Linked DNA regions of Homo sapiens: region 1 is linked to region 2. Evidence: promoter capture Hi-C in human tissues and cell types (Jung and others, 2019). All regions are on one chromosome and are shown on one strand. Each heading gives the region's core, a stretch centred on a gene start or on the middle of the fragment in contact. The rest is flanking DNA. Distances are from core to core; before and after follow the strand shown.

Region 1 (5,264 bases), core at 80-2,579, 120 kb before region 2:
ACCTACAGAGGCACAACTTAATTTTGACAAGAGGATTTGGAGGTTAAAATTCACAGAGCTTAATGTCTACACCAACTAATGCAGGCCTCTCCATTCCCTGTGACATTGTAAGCAATGACCATAAAAAAAATTGCATATTGGTTTATTACATATGGCTTTTTAAACATATATGGCATTGTGGGAAGCAACAAGCATCAGCGGCACTCCTAACCTTGAATAGGCTCAGGAGGACAGTTACTATGCCAATTTTGTATTCTTGAAGTTCTACTTTGTTACTTTCTTACATTTGTCTGATGATAGGAATCACTGGGATGTTAAACTCTGAGATCTACCCTACACTTCCTGGCTCAAAATCTCTAGGCTAAGAAAGATAGGAATCTGTATATTTCAGTGCAACCTAGATGTTTCTTATTATTTGGAATGATTAGGAAATATTAAACGTTCCCTTCCCTAAATCAGACAATTGTTTCCCATTGTGGTCTGTCAGAGCTTTTTGAAAATACGATATTTAGAGTTAAAATGGAAGGACCCTCATTTAAATTATTTTCCTCAATGTTTATACTAATCCAGATAGTCCACTCAGAAGTCTACTTATTAACATGGAATTTGGAGAATTGAAGATGTTCAAGAAGCATTAATATCACTATATGTAGTGCCTATACTTTTCTAAAATGTTACCACCTGCTGGAAAAAATAACCAATTTTATTCCTCTACCACCTGCTGGAAAAAATAACCAATTTTATTCCTCTATCTAAAAAGTATTTTGCAAAAGATCACACAGTTGAAATATTTTGAAGTAAATATATGTACGAACAGAGGGGAATGAAATGAATAACTTACTTGATCTCTGGTTTTTTATGAAAAATAATTTTAGTCTTTCTTTAAATGTATTTTCATTCATATAGAATTCAACTTGTACCCTGCAAACAGAAAATAAAAACATGTAAATGTATGCAAGCAACCATATCTTTATTTTCATGAAGATCAACAAATATAAATTGATCTGTAGTTCTCTAACTTAAAGAATAATACATTTTTGAAATAAATTATTTGATTTAATGCATTATGTATTTTAGTAAATTCCCTGCCATGGAAAATGAGAACTGAGTAAAGTACTGATTTAGAGAGAAGCAATTATTTTCTACTTTTAAAGATAGAATCATTTTAAATATTATACATAGTCAATTCAATTATTTGTATTAATGAATATAATGAGTGGCATGGATTATTCAAAACAGCAATAATGCAAAAGTCTTTAATATGTGTGTTTGAAATGGGTTTGAATCAGTGCTTTCCCCATTTTTTTCCCTGCTGTAAGAATTAACTGACGTTTGAAAAATTCAGTCTGGGCACCACCGTGCCAGATCTACTTATTCAGAATTTTAAAGGGCAGGGCCTAATAATCAATTCTTCACTACACCTATAGCCTATTTAGGACACCACACTCTGTAACACTTTACCTTCCTACTTATGGATCAACCAAGAAGTAGCAGTGGCAAATAGAACTGTTAAGGTTACCACAGATAGATTATAAAGCAAACAACTCAATTAATAGACTACATATTGTATATTTGATCCACTATACAATAATATCAACAGTCTAAAATAATAGCAGTACTTTAATAAATACTCTAAATTCTAGCAAACAGTCTCCCTTTGATAAGGCACAATTAATATTTTCAAAATACTAAGTGAAAAGAGAAATCTTGTTCAGTGCAAGGTAACTTGTAAATAATACTCAATTTCCTTAATCAGTCTCAAATATATTCATTATGAGTTAGAATTTCAAAAACAGCTAAGAATGGATTTTAATGTTTACGCAAAAACAAATATTTAATTTCATTTTTCCTAATATGGTAACATTTTGAAAATGTAATTCATGTAAGCCAGATAAGGTTTGGGGGTCTTTTTTTTGGGGGGGAGATTTTTGGTTTTGTTTTTTTTGCAAGAGTAGATACCTTAGAGAAAACTAGGAGAAAAAAAAAACAACTGACATTACAAAGCTGCTCATGCATTTGAGAAATAGTTCACTACTATATTATCTCATAAACCCTCTACTACCCTGTTTATTCAAGGAAAACCATGAATAGTTTTAAAGCAGTTTATTGTGTCACAAAAGCAACAGGGCATTTTTTTTAATTTTATTATACTTTAAGTTCTGAGATACATGTGCAGAACGTGCAGGTTTGTTACATGGGTATACACATGCCATGTGTATGGTTTGCTGCATCCATCAATCTGTCATCTACATTAGGTATTTCTCCTAATGCTATCCCTTCCCCAGGCCCCATTGTGTGATGTTACCCTCAACAGGGCATTTTTAAAATTAATTACGAATCAAGCTGTATGTGTTGTATCTTCTAAAATACTTGAATGTTCTTTTATATCTTCTCTCTAAAGAATATATTTCTATTTTTATTTCCTCGTTATCATATTCTGACTTACTTTGTTTTTTCTTCACCTTATATATTAAATGAAATTGTTTTAAAGTAAGCAAGATTCTCTTTAGTTAATACCTTCTCCAGACTAGAAGTTGGAAAAGTTCTCTAGAAGTTCTAAAGAAGCCACTAAAATGGCAATGATATCTTTTAGCAGAACATTTCCATCTGTATGCCCATGCACATGTGCACACCCTACACATCTACGTACATATACATACTACAAAAGTCCATGCACACACATACAGAAACAAAACTTCATCGGTGTCTTGGAAATGCATTATTGGACGTGTTTCCCTTGTTTATCAAATGAAAAGTCAGTTCATTTTAAATATAGTAACTGTAAATAGTGAGATAAAGCTAAACTAGTTGAAATTTGTTATGGCTACATAAACAAATTTGAGAGGACAATACGGCTATTACACAAATAATTCAGCAAAGGCCATGCAGATTTGCTTCCTAGAATTACCAAATTTATAAGAATGAGTCCATTTTTCAGATAATATTGGAGTTCAGTACTGGGTATGTAACAGAGGAGCCTTTTTTTGTTGTTTTTTGGTGACGGAGTCTGGCTCTGTCGCCCAGGCTGGAGTGCAGTGGCGCGATCTCAGCTCACTGCAAGCTCCACCTCCCGGGTTCACGCCATTCTTCTCCTCAGCCTCTCCAGTAGCCGGGACTACAGGCGCCAGCCACCATGCCGTGTTAGTCAGGATGGTCTCAATTTCCTGACCTCGTGATCCGCCCACCTCAGCCTCCCAAAGTGCCGGGATTACAGGCGCAGAGGAGCATTTTTTAACTGAAATGAGATCATCTAAAGCCTTAACAAAAATAATGAGGAATCTGGAAAACATACCACATATGGAAAAGGTAGGCGAAACTAGAAAGAATTCGTAATTATGAAGAGTTAGGAGTCACCGTTGTCTTTAAATATTTCAGTTACCAACATTATTAAAATGGAATGACACATAATGTGATTCTCTATTAAATAGAATATTAGATAAATGCACGAATTACGAATGAGAATTATCCAACTTTGAAATGGCCATCAATGTGGAGAGCTCTCCAATACCTATAAATGTGCCAAAGGCTGGACAACAGCATGCGAGCCACTGGCTTTTTTTTTTTTCCTGAGAGCAAAGGCAATTTTGCATGGTGTGAAGTCTCTCATTAAATAATTTCCTAATCCCAATCTAATTATCAAATTATGTGAAGTAAAACTCTTAATGAATCTGGCGATCTCTCTGAGTCAATATAATCATTGAGAAACATGGATTATATTAAAACATGAAATTATACAACTTTTATTTAAAGCCAAAATGCAAGCAAAATGTTTTTTGATACATGACTTATACTGGGCACAGAAAATGTCCTTTAGGCTTACTGGTTACAGTATAAAGTAGAGCTTTTTTTTTTTTAATTTGATTTAATGATAACTCTTTCTAGCAGCAAGGCATGTTAGTGACAGCGTGTACTTTTGAGACCTTCCTCAGCACCAGTTTTTTAGCACCCAGGTATTTAGTTCAGAGTTTAGTGGTTACCCTTCCCAAAGTTTTTCATGATTTAACTTATTTTAAATATAATCTCACCGCTTCCTTTTTCAAGTTTAAACTGGTTTCATCTCCTCCCTCCATTCCTTCCTCCCTCCTTTCCTTCCTTTAATCTTGCCTCCCTCTCTTCCTTCTTTTCTTCTGACCTCCCTACCTCCATCTAACTTTATCTGAATTTACTTACATCTAGTAGACTATGTTAGTGTAATCTTTCGTGTACTCTTACACTAAGTTAGTGTACTCTTTCTGGACCTTCCCCAGAACCACAGAGTTTTGATTTATGGCAAATCTGCTCTCATCACTTTTTAAGATGTCATTTTTGTCAAAGGCTTATACAAAAGTTAAAATTTAAAGTAATTTTGTTACATTTATTCAAATACCATAATAGCAATTTTATTTGATTTAAAAAGATACTGGAATTCCAATCATTATTAGGTGGTACCTTCTATTGAAATATGTTCTTGCTATTTAATAGTTATTTTTATGTTGATCAACAACATTTTATTTGGGTAAATGTTATATATTCTTTGTGACACTTATTTCTGGCTATTTTATAATTTTGGTTGCCTTTTAAATTGTTTTATTCCAATCTTTAACTTTTTGGTTTTGATATTGGAAATAGCTGCCATGTTGACCTCTCTTACATGTGATTTTTTTTTCACATTTATTACTTGGGTTTGCTAGACAGACAGTTATGGACATGTTCTTTAATATTTCTACAGTAAGACCTCACTTAATGTCATCCATAGCTTCTTTGCGACTTTAAGAGAAATGATAGATAGGCCAGGCACGGTGGCTCACACCTGTAATCCCAGCAATTTGGGAGGCCGAGGCGGGTGGATCACGAGGTCAGGAGATCGAGACCATCCTGGCTAACATGGTGAAACCCCAGCTCTACTAAAATACAAAAAATTAGCCGGGCATGGTGGTGGGCACCTGCAGTCCCAGCTACTCTGGAGGCTGCGGAAGGAGAATGGCGTGAACCTGAGAGGCAGAGGTTGCAGTGAGCCGAGATCGTGCCACTGCACTCCAGCCTGGGCGACAGAGCAAGACTCTGTCTCAAAAAAAAAAAAAAAAGAAATGATAGATAACAAATCCAATTTCACCATAGGCTAATTGATGTAAACAAGAGTTAGGTTTCTACTGGCCACAAAAATGTCACCAAACTTCTAAATAAAAACCAAAATACTTTTGATATTAAATGTCGAAATAAATATGAGCTATACATACATTCAAGAAAGATTAGTGAAAACAAGCAAGGTTATTTACCCACTTGTT
Region 2 (4,792 bases), core at 282-2,781:
TTACCCAAACACTTTACAAGAATACTGAGAAATTGGTATTACTTCTTTAAATTTTTAGCCAATATGTGTGGTTTTGCCTAAAAAAGAGATTGAACCAAAATATCCTCTACAAAACATCCATCTCCTTTCAAATTACTAATATGAGACCAAACAAGATGCCCATAATTGATGCTCAAGATAAAATCCTCAGTGTGTAGAGACAGGAGTTGGTATTGGGAGCTGAAAAGGTGAAGAAAAGAAATAGAGTGTATTGGTCAGTGGTGAATGAGGAGGGGATTTTGGATTGGACCAATAATGGATCTTTTATATAACTAAAATAGCACATCAATACTAAACTAAACTTCAATGAAACATTTCAATTGAGTTGAGAACCTAGTTAGTATACATGTATTATTTTAAAACAAAGAAATGTGGCATGTGATATATGGGATGACTATTCCAGAAAATACTAAATTCGCTGAAATACAAAATGTGCTTGAGACAGAAATAGACAGAGGAATTTCAGAAGTTTGTGCAAAGCAGTAATGCTATAAATAAAACACATGAACAATATTTTGCTAACAATAAATATTCTAGTTTTGAAACTTAATTTTAATTTTGAGACATATATTCTGTTTCAGTTAAAAAAATATACTAGTTATGAAAAGGTTGTATCATGTTATACAAACATCATTATTCATAATGGTCAGAGTCACCTGTTCAAAGTGAGTATATTGTATTAAAAAGGTTGTCATTTTCACTAACTACCTGTTACATATTTAAACCAATTGTCTACTTAAAACTCCAAAATGTTTAAACAGCATAAAATTTCCAGTGCCAAGTAGATACCTACTCAAGACAACACAGACAAGGAGGAGGTAAATAGACTCAGGAGATTTTAAGTTTCTAATGTGCTTTTTCAAACAACTTGCATGCAATTTTGAGTTTGATTAACCACACCTAAGGAAAAAATGCAAATTTTCTGGAAATGATATTGCATACCATTTGGGTGTATTGTACCTCTGATACCAGCCTTATACACATCCTAGAAAAGCACAGATAGACAAAAGAATAAGCACCAAATGAATGCAATAAATACCTTGCAAGAATAAGAAAAGTGTAAAGAAAAAGAGTTCCTTATCTATAGCAACAGTTATATAGAGTCAAAATGGAGAGACAAATCAGAGTCTCTTTTACTCCCTCCCCCAGCCTAGTCTCCCTCTCTGGCTCCGTTTTCCTTTTCTCCCTCCTTTCCCCACTTCGGCCCTCCCATTTCCGTCTCTTTTTCAGCAATATTTACAGAACAATCCTCCACCACACCACTCACCTGTCGTCGTTTTGCCATCCTTGGTCCCCTAGCAGCAAATCTCGAAACCTGTACCTGGGAGGCAGAGGGGGCACTTCGCTCTCCAAATCAACCATCCTTCCTCAAAGAGTGGGAAACATCAAACAACAAATGGAGGAGAGGAGGGAGAAAGAAAGAAAATATTGCGGAGTACAGGGAGAGGACTAACAAGACGCTGTGGCCGAGAGAGGGATGGGAGAAGGGGAAGGGGACAGGGAGGGGGAGGGGGTCCGCTTGGAGCCGGAAGCTAAGGCTTGAAAGGGGGCTGGCTCCTCTTTCCCGAGGGTGTAATGGGGATGATGCAAACCCAACCCAGGAGCAAAAGTCTGGCTCTGACAAGAATCAACGCTGCCAAGGAACCGCCCCCAGGCTCGGCACCGCCTCTGGTCCCCAGGACTAGGGGGAGGCGGGTATAAAAAGTTACTTCGCCGAAAAAGACGCGCGGTGCCTAGAAAGAGGGGAGAGGGGTGGGAGTGAGCGCCGCTTGATGGTGAAGCACTTTCCTTAAAGGCAGTTGCCAGATCCTCCCAGAGGGCAGCCTCCCGGCTACTGTTCCCTCGGGCGGGCTTGCATCCGGCACAGCCCTGAGCTGGCGGGAATCGGGGGCGGTGGGTTTCGGCCCCAGACGCGGCCAACCCGGCTCTCCCCGCAATCTCCCTGTGGAGATGGAGCTGGAGGCCCAGCCAATGAGACTCCCCCTCATTAGCATAGCACAGTGACGGCACGGGGGTGCCTTGGGGACAACCAATGGGGGCGAGCTAATTAGCGGATTGCGGGGCTCCAGACCCTTCTCTGGGAGGAGGGGGGCCAGGGTGCTTGGAGTGTTCCACTATGCCACGAGCTCCCTCGCTTTGATTGCCTTCAGTCCAGGTGGGCGGGATGAAAAAATTGCACGTTTCTGGAAAGGGAATCCCCACTCTCAGCCCCAGGAAAATCCCATTTTTTTCTCACATTCTGAAAGAAGGGAGGTGTTTCCCTGAACTCGGGGAAAAAGAAGGGCCACCTTAGGCCGCTGAAGAGAAGCATTTAGATGACAGGGAAAGCACATGGAAACGCACTGAGGATTTTACAGTGGTGAGTTGCTGTTACTGCTGTCGCTGCTACTAGCAGCGTTGTGGGCTTCCAGGTGGCCTGGCCTCAGCCTTCGGTCCCCTCCTATTAGTGGTTCACACGGAGGAAGAAGTGAGCCCGAGAGAACAGGGTCTGTTTTTCAGTAAGAACCACTGCTTACATGAACCCTGCTACACAAGCTATGGTTCTATTTGCGCTTACCGTTCTTTCCTTCAAAAACTGATTGCATCAGAGTATATACAGACCGAATACCAACCACCTGACAGCCTGGGCCGGAGGATAACCATATGGCTTCTCCTGCCCTTACTTAAGAACCGCTCTGTGTGGAGGAACAAGCTTGTTCCTTGATAAATGGATACGATGTGAGAGACAATAATCAAAGAACATACAGAGGGATTTGGAAATACCTGTGAGGTACACATACTTCTTCGAGGTGGGGGTCAAGGAAGACATTGAAAATGAACCAAGCCTTCTATATTCGTTCGCAGCCTACTTTAGGGAAAAGAGCAAAGGTGAAGCAAGCAGAGAGAATAGTATGAGTAGAGGCATAGGGATTTTTTAGAATATTTGGCTTATCCAGAAAATAGTGATTAATTTGGCATGATTAATGCTCAGTAGAGGTCATGTAGCAGAGGGTTTATTTAAGAAGCTAGAAATGAAGGAAGAAATTACCAAAACTTGTAACATCAAATGAAATACAATGACTACTGAAACCTGAAGAATAGCAGTTGAAATAAAAGTCATACTGTTTGTCTCTGTCTTCAAAATCCTACTCATCCTTCCAGACCCATCTCAAATTACATATCCTCCATTAGATTTCTTGGTTTTTCCAGCTTCTTATGATGTCTTCTTCCTTTGAACCCCTTTGTTTGAACCCTTCATAACCCATGTGAGTATTTTGCCTGGAATGCTTACTATAACCTGACCCGCTATACGATTATCTGTGCGTTTTTCTTTCAACTCTTCCCCTCTCCCTGTGGCTTAGCTGCCTCTAGCACGGGACCTTCAAAATAGCCACATTTCAACAAATAGGTGTGGAGTTGCATTAAAAGCTATTAAATCTAGGAAATTAAGCATGTTTTTTTCCATCCATGCTTGCACTCCTGTGGTATGTGTTTGTTTATGAAATCATAATTTAGCACGAACTTTTGTAATTACTTTGCTAAATAAGAAAGTAATATTGCTACATTATTAGTTTATACAGATAGAGATAGAGAGAGAGATCTGGTTTATATTTTAGACCTTATCATCTCCTATTAAAATGATTCTATTAATTTTATTTGTAATGTTCCAAGTTAATATTTATAGTTACAGTCTAACTGTATTATTTGGATGACAGAAAATCTGAAATATTTACATATCATTAACAGACTAAAAATCAAGACACTGAAAAAAGAAAAAAAATAGCAATCGATTGTTAGTCCTGGGATGCTGGAGGTTAGAGGGTAAAGTAACATTTTACTTAAAAGAAAGCTATGTGCCTCTATTTTACCTTTTGTGAAAATCTTAGTCATTTGGCTTCCAAATACTCAGATAAAAGTTTAGGAGAGAACAAATAGTACATTAAAAATAAATAAATAAGAAAAAACCTACTCAGCTAATACTGTGTGCCATTATGGATACAAACTATACAAAGTAATGTGCTCAGGGCAACCAATTGGAAACTACCACATTGATGATATTTTGATTCTCTGGTGTGTCTTGAAATTGTCCAAGTGAATTTTTTTTACTATAAACTTAAGAAAATTAGAAGAATAATGTATTATAGGAAATGCTATTGATATGGTTTGGCTCTGTGTTCCCACCCAAATCTCATCTTGAATTGTACTCCTATAATTCCCATGGGTTGCAGGAGGGACCCGGTGGGAGACAATTTGAATCAAGGCAGTAATATACGCCGTACTGTTCTCATGATAGTGAATAAGTCTCGTGGGATCTGATAGTTTTATCAAGGGTTGCCGCTTTTGCATGCTCCTCATTTTCTCTTGCCACCGCCATGTAAGAAGGACCTTTAGCCTCTCATCATGATTCTGAGGCCTCCTCAGCCATGTGGAACAACTGTAAGTCCAGTTAAACCTCTTTTTCTTCCCAGTCTCGGGCATGTCTTTATCAGCAGCGTGAAAATAGACAAATACAGTAAATTGGTACCAGTAGAGTGGGCATTGCTGAAAAGATACCCAAAAATATGGAAGCGACTTTGGAACTGGGTATCAGTCAGAGATTGGAACACTTTGGAGAGCTCAGAAAAAGAGAGGAAAATGTGGAAAAGTTTGGAATCTCCTAGAGACTTGTTAAATGGCTTTGACAGAATTGCTGATAATGACATGAACAATCAAGTCCAAGCTGAGGTGGTCTCAGATGGAGATGAGGAACTTGTTGGGAACTGGAGTAAAGGTG

The links. The method cuts DNA at HindIII sites, captures the fragments that hold promoters and counts their contacts. A contact is called where the count stands out against the background at its distance.
Region 1: a fragment that was not itself captured here is called in contact with the fragment with the promoter of KCNT2 in region 2 in 2 of the 25 tissues and cell types used here (neural progenitor cells and stomach).

The regions. Positions count from the first base shown.
Region 1 is chr1:196,491,421-196,496,684 of GRCh38, forward strand. It overlaps KCNT2 (potassium sodium-activated channel subfamily T member 2), which reads right to left. Exons shown (of 28, transcript NM_198503.5): 2 at 842-921. Among named protein-coding and RNA genes, the nearest start is that of MIR4735, 88 kb to the right of the region's middle. The HindIII fragment of the contact is 9,283 bases long and covers 1-5,264 here.
Region 2 is chr1:196,606,909-196,611,700 of GRCh38, forward strand. KCNT2 (potassium sodium-activated channel subfamily T member 2) reads right to left here and starts at 1,532. Exons shown (of 28, transcript NM_198503.5): 1 at 1,307-1,532. The coding sequence starts at 1,401. RefSeq lists an enhancer at 1,867-2,383. The HindIII fragment of the contact is 13,382 bases long and covers 1-4,792 here.